2 separate regions of the Homo sapiens genome follow, and region 2 is linked to region 1. Evidence: promoter capture Hi-C in 16 types of primary human blood cells and fetal thymus (Javierre and others, 2016). All regions are on one chromosome and are shown on one strand. Each heading gives the region's core, a stretch centred on a gene start or on the middle of the fragment in contact. The rest is flanking DNA. Distances are from core to core; before and after follow the strand shown.

What was found. Contacts are between HindIII fragments. The CHiCAGO score rates a contact against its expected background, and 5 or more counts as called.
Region 2: a contact is called between a fragment that was not itself captured here and the fragment with the promoter of CLXN in region 1, in 2 of 17 cell types (M0 macrophages and M2 macrophages). The highest score is 5.9, in M0 macrophages.

Annotation. Positions count from the first base shown.
Region 1 is chr8:48,733,424-48,737,585 of GRCh38, forward strand. CLXN (calaxin) reads right to left here and starts at 1,845. Exons shown (of 6, transcript NM_024593.4): 1 at 1,671-1,845. The coding sequence starts at 1,728. RefSeq lists an enhancer at 1,250-1,924. The HindIII fragment of the contact is 1,056 bases long and covers 1,244-2,299 here.
Region 2 is chr8:48,820,721-48,824,842 of GRCh38, forward strand. It overlaps LOC105375825 (a long non-coding RNA gene), which reads left to right. Exons shown (of 5, transcript XR_928859.3): 5 at 779-4,122. Among named protein-coding and RNA genes, the nearest start is that of CLXN, 88 kb to the left of the region's middle. The HindIII fragment of the contact is 997 bases long and covers 780-1,776 here.

The DNA.
Region 1 (4,162 bases), core at 595-3,094:
ATGTGTCCTGCAGAACATATCTGTAGAACAGTGCATGAACTAGATGTTCTCTTAAGATCTTTCACTCTTCTTTGATTCTACAAAATTTATCCATTGAATCTTGATAGCTTTATTGTCTTGCAACTAAAACAAAATTTAACTTTAGGGGAAAGTTCTTCCGTTAAAGAAAATTTAAAATTATTATAATGTCCATGACGTATAACTATTTCTATAGACTTTAACTAATAATCATCTAAGTTTGTAAGACTCATTGAAAATTTTTTAGTAAACAAAAAAATCAAGAGCAGACTTTTTCCTGCCATATTTTTACTTACCTTTAAAAATATACACTCACCTTTTGATTGTTCACAGAATGATTGTCTGCAATGCATTCAAACTTACCGAACAGAGACTAAATCAAATTCAAACTTACGGAAAGGGACAAAATCAGTATTGTGTATAGCAGCTATTGCATTGTTTTTGAATATTTATCAAAAATGTTTACTAGATGTTTACTAGAAGAATACCTATTCTCCCAGAAATGAAAGTGTTTTAAGAAAAACAATAACAGAACAAAACCCTCATCAGAGTATAGTAGTCATAATAATATCTTAAATTACAGGATTTTTTTCCTAAACATTTTAAGATGCGTACACACACCATAATATTCATTTATATCACCATCCACTAAGAGAGCATTTCTTACCAGGTATTAAATCAGATACTAATGATAATTAGAATGCACTAGATCTTACAATCTCTAAAACTACATCAACATGTTTATTCCTTCTTTTTTGAGCGACTCGGTTATTTGGGGGATTGTTGCTTCTGTTTCTTCAAGTGGCCAGTAGTTTTGCAATTAGCACACACAACTTCTAAGTTTGCTCGACAGGAAATTATCTTCCTCATCTAAACCATACCCACGGCTTCCTTGCTAAAGTGCAATTATGTTTTTCAGTCTGAATATAAACTCAAAGTTTCCTATGAAATTCTAGGACCACCCTTTCAAATGCGAGATTAGAGCAGGTGCCTTCAAATAGGGCTCATCTTGTCACCTGCAAAGTCTCCTTTATCTTTCAACACCAGGGGCCACTGGAAAGTGGGAGTCTAAAGTTGGGAACCCATTCTTTACCACGTGTTTAGTTGTGCTGAACTCTGGTTTCCAAACAAATATTGTTCTGAGGCACAGATGAGATGACACAACTCATCTCTCCGAAAGATGTTGAGAAGTTGAGCACCGTTTTCTCCTATGGGTCTCTTGGTAAGCTTCCAGAACTTGGACCTGCGGGTGTATGTGCGAGCTATAAAGCAGGGTGAGTGCACGGTCTACCTTGGTGGTGCTACTTTTCTTGAGACCAGTTGGTTTTAGCATTTATTTTACACCTCATTGAGGCTAACATCACATGTTTCTATCAGGTAAAAGAAGAGGGTTGGAGAAGCAAGTAAATGCATGTGTGGGAGTGTAGGTAGCACCAGAGGCGGAGGCCTGGGTTCCTAAGATCAAACGCAAGGAGCTGGCACCCCGGGATTCCCTCTCTGACTTCTGCTTAAGGGGCCGGGGTGGAGGGGCGGTAGGTAGCCCACAGAGTCCCAGCAGGCGGGAAGCAGGCACAACAGCGGACCTTAGCACGGGGTGGGACCCAGGCTCGGTCCAGGAGCCTCGGCCTGTCCAGCACTACATTCTTACTTACAATGCTTGCAATTTTTGGTTAAGGTGTCCGTCAGCTTCTGCAGTTTCTTGCGGTTCATGTCTGGCGCTCAGAGAATCGGGCCGCGGCGGGGGTCTCTGGGCGCGCGGCTACCGAGACCCTCGCGGGACCCCCGCGAGCCCTGGTGCTGGGTCAACGCGGTGAGGTCTCAGTTACTGATCTCGTGCGCGGCCCTAACAGACGGTGTAGCCAAGGCAACGGCTCAGCCCGCCGCGGATTGGCTCCCAGGCTGCCCGCGACGTAGCCAAAGCTACAGCTGGGCCCCGCCCATCGGCTCAGCGACTGCTCGCGCTGGGTTCTCGGTGCGCGGTGCCGCCGGCAGGGTCCCAGCTGGCCGCCTTGAGGGCTGTATTCTGACTGTTGACGTTGGAGTTTAAATGTTCAGTTGTTGCTGGCTTTTGAGTTCGCAGCCTCTTTGCTTGATTGCAGTGTAAATCATTAAAATCTGAAATGTGGTGTGCACGCTGTATGAGAGGTGTTTCGGGTCGTGAGCGTCACGCCTCAAGGGAAGGCCCAAGATCTTGGACATCTTGGGGGCTGGAGCAGCGTCACAAAATAGCAAGGTGCTGTCCAGAGGACGATCTTGCCGGGCCTCCCGTCAGAGGGCTAGAAGCTTGCTCTTTGGGCGGAGCCACTGCTTAGGTTTTCAGTCTTGGTGAGGTAACAGGAGGCAGTCTGTCACCTGAGGTCTTCGAGCTTTTAGTTGTGTTTCTGAGAGCAAGGGGAAATTGGAATACAGCCACGGGTTGCCTAAGGAGCGGGACGCGTTCCGAGGTCACTAGGAGATTTCATCACTGTGTGCACATCACGGTGCACCGACACAAACCTAGATGGCCTTGCCTACTGCACGCCAGGCTGTATGGTACAACCCATTGCTTCTGGGCTGCACCCCTGCACAGCAGGTCACAGCGCGGAATGCTGCAGGCAGCTAAAACAGAGTGCTAAGCACTCTGGGGAAGGTGCAGTGTTCCAGTACAGTGTTACATCTTATGGGACCACTGTCCTAATGTTGTCTGATGTTGACTTAAATGGCGCTATGTGGCTTGTGACTGTAGTTTTTTTCTTTTCCCACTGCCCTCATCTCACTTCCAAAAGATGGAGGTTGTCTGTGGAATCTGAGGAAAGCCACGAGGAATTTTTATACTGCTTAAATAGGCATTCCCCCCAATGAAAACGGGCTGACAACACCACTTGGGTGTGGGGTACAGCCCAATCTTGCTTTTCCGGAAAATATCTCAGCAACCTTGGTCCTTTACTTATTTGAAAGACAAGTTCTGTGCCGGCAGACAAAGGATATTCCTTACATCTTCAGGGTGGGAGGACTTTCTGCTTTTCCTGATCACAGAGGGGATATCCTCTTTCAGCTAAGGCAGCAATAAAAAGGGGTGGCTCAGCCAGGATCACCAAATCTACAGTATTCTCCAGAGTGCCTGCTCGTTTAACTTCAGAGGGGAAAATGACAAACTATGTTATTGTACACATACTGGCATTTTTAGACTGAAGGCAGAAAAATTCTACTAACCATGAGTAATAATCCCAAATGAAATAATTCCAATGTCGAGGCCTCTGGTTTTTCTTTACTGTTTCATTTGTTTGTGGAATGAAGGATTGGGATGCTGTTTGAAACTAGAGCAAAGGGTGCTTGGTAAAGGCATGGACTGTGTTATCCTAAAGCAAATGTCCTAACAACAGTTACCCGATATGAATTGATGGTGATTATGAGTTTGTAACAGTAGTATTTTTAAATAGTGTTTCTACATATCCCCTTGTCTAGAAGAGTGAAATTCCTGAGACCATAGAGAACAAAAGGGAAAGACTGGACATATTTGAATTATACTTACCTGTGACACCTTATTGATTTCTGTTGGATCACAGAGCTGTAGCAAATACTTAATTCCTAGAGATTGCTGCACTGCTCACTTCAAGAGACAAGGAACCGAAAGAGTGGTTGTCAGTAATTACTAAGAGACGCTGTGGGCTCCCCACCTGATGTACTAGGCCTGTGTTGGGGAGCAGGCCTGCGCTGTTGGTGAGCACATTGGTGGTTATTTCTGGTGGCCTGGGGAGATCGCATACACCGGGTGCTTGCTATAGGTAAGCTAATTAGTTATTCCTTCACGAGTTTAAGGCCTAGAGCCCATCAGCCATGTTCCCTTAAAGTTAAAAAAATAATAAAAAGATGTAGGGGCAATATCACAGATTGTTGAAATTAAAATATGCCGGGCCAAAACTCCTTAACCTGTTGAGCAAACTTTGTAAGTCACCTCCTCCTCTTCCACTTCTTTTATCCTCCAGTTCTTTCTTCCATGCAGTTCTTTTAGCCAAAAAAATCAACCAATCTATCTATCTATCTATCTATCTATCTATCTATCTATCTATCATCTATCTATCTATCTTTCTATCTATCTATGCAAATGCATTGTTTTGTGAATCTCACTTATCTAAGAGAGTGATTTGCAGAGTTGACCTTACAA
Region 2 (4,122 bases), core at 28-2,527, 87 kb after region 1:
GAGTCTTGAGTTGCACTTTGCACCGTGGTCTGGACCTCAAGGTGTCATTTTTGTCGCTGAGCCACACTGAAAGTGTCATGAAAATGGTTTCTTTTCTCCCCTGTGGCTCCTGGCCAGTCACCTGGTTGTTTATTATGTGTTCTACCATGATCATTAATGTTTGAAAAGCAGTTTTTCAACTTAGGACTCCTTGTCAATAAGTTCGTGGAAGGGGATTTGATGGAATGCATCTTAGTTTGTGTTTTGAAGGTCCCCACCCTCTTCTGTCGCTTCTGCTCCAGGTAGATTTCCTTTCCTAAAGTCTGCCTCTCCCTGTCTCCTCTTCTGGGTCTTCAGAGCCCTGCACTTCTCAACAATGTATCTTTGTTTTCTGGGTCTTACAAAGCACAGTGGCAGAATGTTCAAGAGACAATTCAAAGAAAAAGATGCCAGTAAAAATGGGAGGCGATTATTAGAAGGGACACCTAGAAACCTACCCTATGAGAGGTCATGGCAATTGCAGCATGACAGAGGAGGAAAGGTCTTAAGGTTTTGTCCTGGTGCAAACGGAAGCTGTCTGGGCTGAGAGATTCGCTTGAGCCCTTCCAGGCCATCTGTTCAAACTTGCACAAGGGTGGGGGAGGGGGGATGACTTGGTCAACCATCTCATTTGTTTCTACCATCATCTCCATGTCCATCTTTAATTATAAGAGAGTAAATCTTAAAAGTTGAAAAGGTATATTAAGTAACTATTGTTGTGGGGAAAATCCTACTTCTAATGTTTTATATTTTTTTTCAGAAGCTTGATTGTAAAGAGTGTTAACTCTTCAAGGAAAAAAAATTAAAAATATTTTTTAAAGAAAATGAAGGCCCAGATGGAAGAGGCCCCCACCTGTAACGCCAAGGTGAGCTCATCCCCAGGTACCACAATGACCTGAGGTGCTTGTAAAAGATGCCGCTCTCTTGGTGCTTGGCTAGGAGCAAGCTATGGCATGGAGAACAGGGATAGACCCACCTGAAAATCTGGACCTGCTTCTTCGTGGATGAAGGAATGTGCACCCAGGAGGCCAGGACCCCTGGTCACCTGCATGAAAGGTTTGAGGTGGTGCCGCACATTCCAGAAGGTGATGTGGTCTCAGATGATGCCCATGGGCACTGTCAGGGTGGGTCCAGGACTGCAGCTGCCTGGGCTGTTTATTCTGCAGGCAGACATGCCCTGGGGGCCAGTCTGAAGAGCAGCTCAGAGAAGGTGATCAAGCTCCATTTTCAAAAACAAAACAAAAAAGTGAAGACAGACTAACACCCAGTAAACGTGATGTGATCAGGGCTGCCACTTCCAGAGCACCCTGAGAGTCAAGACCAAAGATCACCAGCAGCCTCTGATTTGAACTTCAGATTGGATCTGGAGGCTAAGCATTCTCAGCCTGCTCTAAAGCTGGACAGGCTTCCTGACACCAGAGCTGGCTGCTGGACCTGAGGATGCACCACAGGAGGCTGAGCCTCCTCCCACAGCGGGGAGATGGTGCCCAGGTGAAAGACACGTGTCCTGAGAGAAACCCCTCGGCCCATCACTCATCACAGAGGGGCCGGGGAACAGCTCCTACTTTTCTCTCAAGCAGTGATAACATGTGATTTCCCAGGTCAATCTTGATTTCAGAAATGTTAAAAATAAATGGGCCTGGAAGACTTGTAATTTGAGAATAAGACTTGAAAACAAGTGAAAAGCAGTGAGAACAGATTTTGGTGCCTCCTAGACTTTTCTCATTGGCTGCGCACATTTAGCCTTGAAAGTAAGTAAGCTTATATAGCTGGTGTTCTTCAATCATTTCACATGAAATTGTTAGGTATGTTTTGTATAAAAATGCATGTGAAAGATATTGTGACAAAGGAAAACAAGCCTACTTGAGGATTCTTAAGAAAAGAAAAAGGGTCATTACTGAGATGTCTGTGGTCTCGAAAAGTGACTATATCCTCTTGCCTGAGGCTGAGACAAGACATGTCGGGTGGTCCCACTGCATCCGCCTCACCCACCCTCTGGTGAACCAGGCGGGGAAGTCCTCCTCCTGCAGTGGATGCACACAGACTCTCCTCACAGCTCAGAGAAAAGGCTGCTTCTGCCCACATGTGGCTTGGCAATCCAGGGCACCTGCCTGGGGAATAAAAAGTCATCCTGGGAGGTGCTTCCATGGTGGCCTCTGGCAGAATGACACCTTCTCAGGTACAGGACTCCACATCCCCTTTCTGAGCCACTGGCTGAGTTGGGCGCTCTTGTATGAGTGGGGAATAGAAGCAAAGATGTTGCTAACACCCTGCTTTGAAAGATGCTTCCTATTTAGACTGATCTCAGGTCTATCTGAGGCTCGAGGCACCGTAAGTCAAGAGGAGACAATGCCACATGCTGAACCAGGGTCAGGCAGGTACATGCACGCATTGCAAGGCTGTGAGGGAATCCTTGAGGGAGATGAGAGGATGGAAGCTAGGGGTCAAAAGAGGATGCACCAACGTGAAGGGAAATGTTGACTGGGACCCACAGCATCAAGACAAACACATGAGCAGGCTGGAGAGGAGCCCCAGGTGAAGCTTATTCTGGGAAAAGAGAATATAAGGGGTGACTTTTACTAAAGATTCAGCTCTGAACAGAACCCAGATATCATAGGGTTGCTTGTCATGCATCTACATCTCCAACAAGACATGCTAGAAGTGATGGGAGCTTGTTACACTCAGACGTGTGACCTGGAGACTCTGAGTTCTAATTCTATTCCTTTGAGGCCTGCAGACATGTCTTTGTCTTGTCTCCTAATCTCCTTTCTGTTTAGGAAAAGACAGAACACCAGAGCCACTGTCAAAATGGTGAGGATGGGATCTTGTTTTGTGGATTCCACCATAATGCTAACATAGCCCAGACTGTTGCTTTCTGTCTCCGGTTCCATGACTTCTTAATGACAAACTTGTTAAAATATGGTTTTATTTCCAAAATTTAAATGCAGGTGGGACACAATACTTCTTAAATACTGTTTCTACCATCTATTCCTCCTCTTGTCCTTTTGCTTCCACTAATATCTAGGAATAGCAAAAGCATAACTACATGAGAAGTGATGCTTGGCTTAACTGCATGTGGGAGAGGAGGAACTGGAAAAGAAAGAGAGCGTTCCATTAAGAGAGGACAAAACAACACACACAGAGAAAGACAGGGACAAGAGACAGCAACAGTGGAAACATCATTCTTCATATCTTCACACTTTTCAACACTGGCTTCCTCAGCCTATGAGGTATCACACCATTTACAGAGAATAAAGGGAGGTCTAGAATTGCCGAGGTTTGCCAAAGTTCACACAGTTCGACAGTCATTGAATGCAAGACCCAGACATGCAAGCTCCTGCTGTCAACAGGGGGAAAGGAAGGGTGGAATCAGATCAGATTCCCTCCTCTACCACAGTGTATACAGTTGTAACAGGGAGGCCTGCTTCCACAGGGAGCCAACTTCACTCGCACATCTCGCACATCTCAGCCATCCTCTCCCTTCTCTTGCCTTCTCTATTCTTCATCTGTAGCTCCTTTCCTGCAGCTGCTAGAGACACCATCATGTGCAATTGCAAGCCTGGCTACTGAAGTGCAGGAGTGGCCACTGTGCCCGGAACAGCATGCCTCAGTGGGGGATATGGTCAGAATGGACACGGAGGCCACACTGCAGGAGGCCTTGGGCATGACTGTAAGGGACTGGGTCTTGATTCCGCATGAATGAGGTGGCGCTGGAGAACTCTCTGCAGAGAAGTGTCATTATGCAACATTCTTTTTAATTTTTAAAATTTTCCTTTTGGATTAATTTCAGATTTACAGAAAAGTTACAACACAAAGTATGGAAAATTACTATAAACCCTTCACTTGACTTCCTCTAATGTGCATATTTTACATAAGCACAGTACATTTTTCAAAACTAAGAAATTAACATTGGTTATGACTGACTCATCTACAGATGTTATTGAGATTTCACTAGTTATTTCAGTAGTGTCTCTTTTTTGTTCTCTTGTCTATTTGAAATATCACATTGTATTCAGTGCCATGTGTTTTCAGCAGGGTCACTGAAGCTGCTCTGTGGGTGGAGGGAGACATTTATGGGCTTTAGGAATAGACTTAACCAAAGAC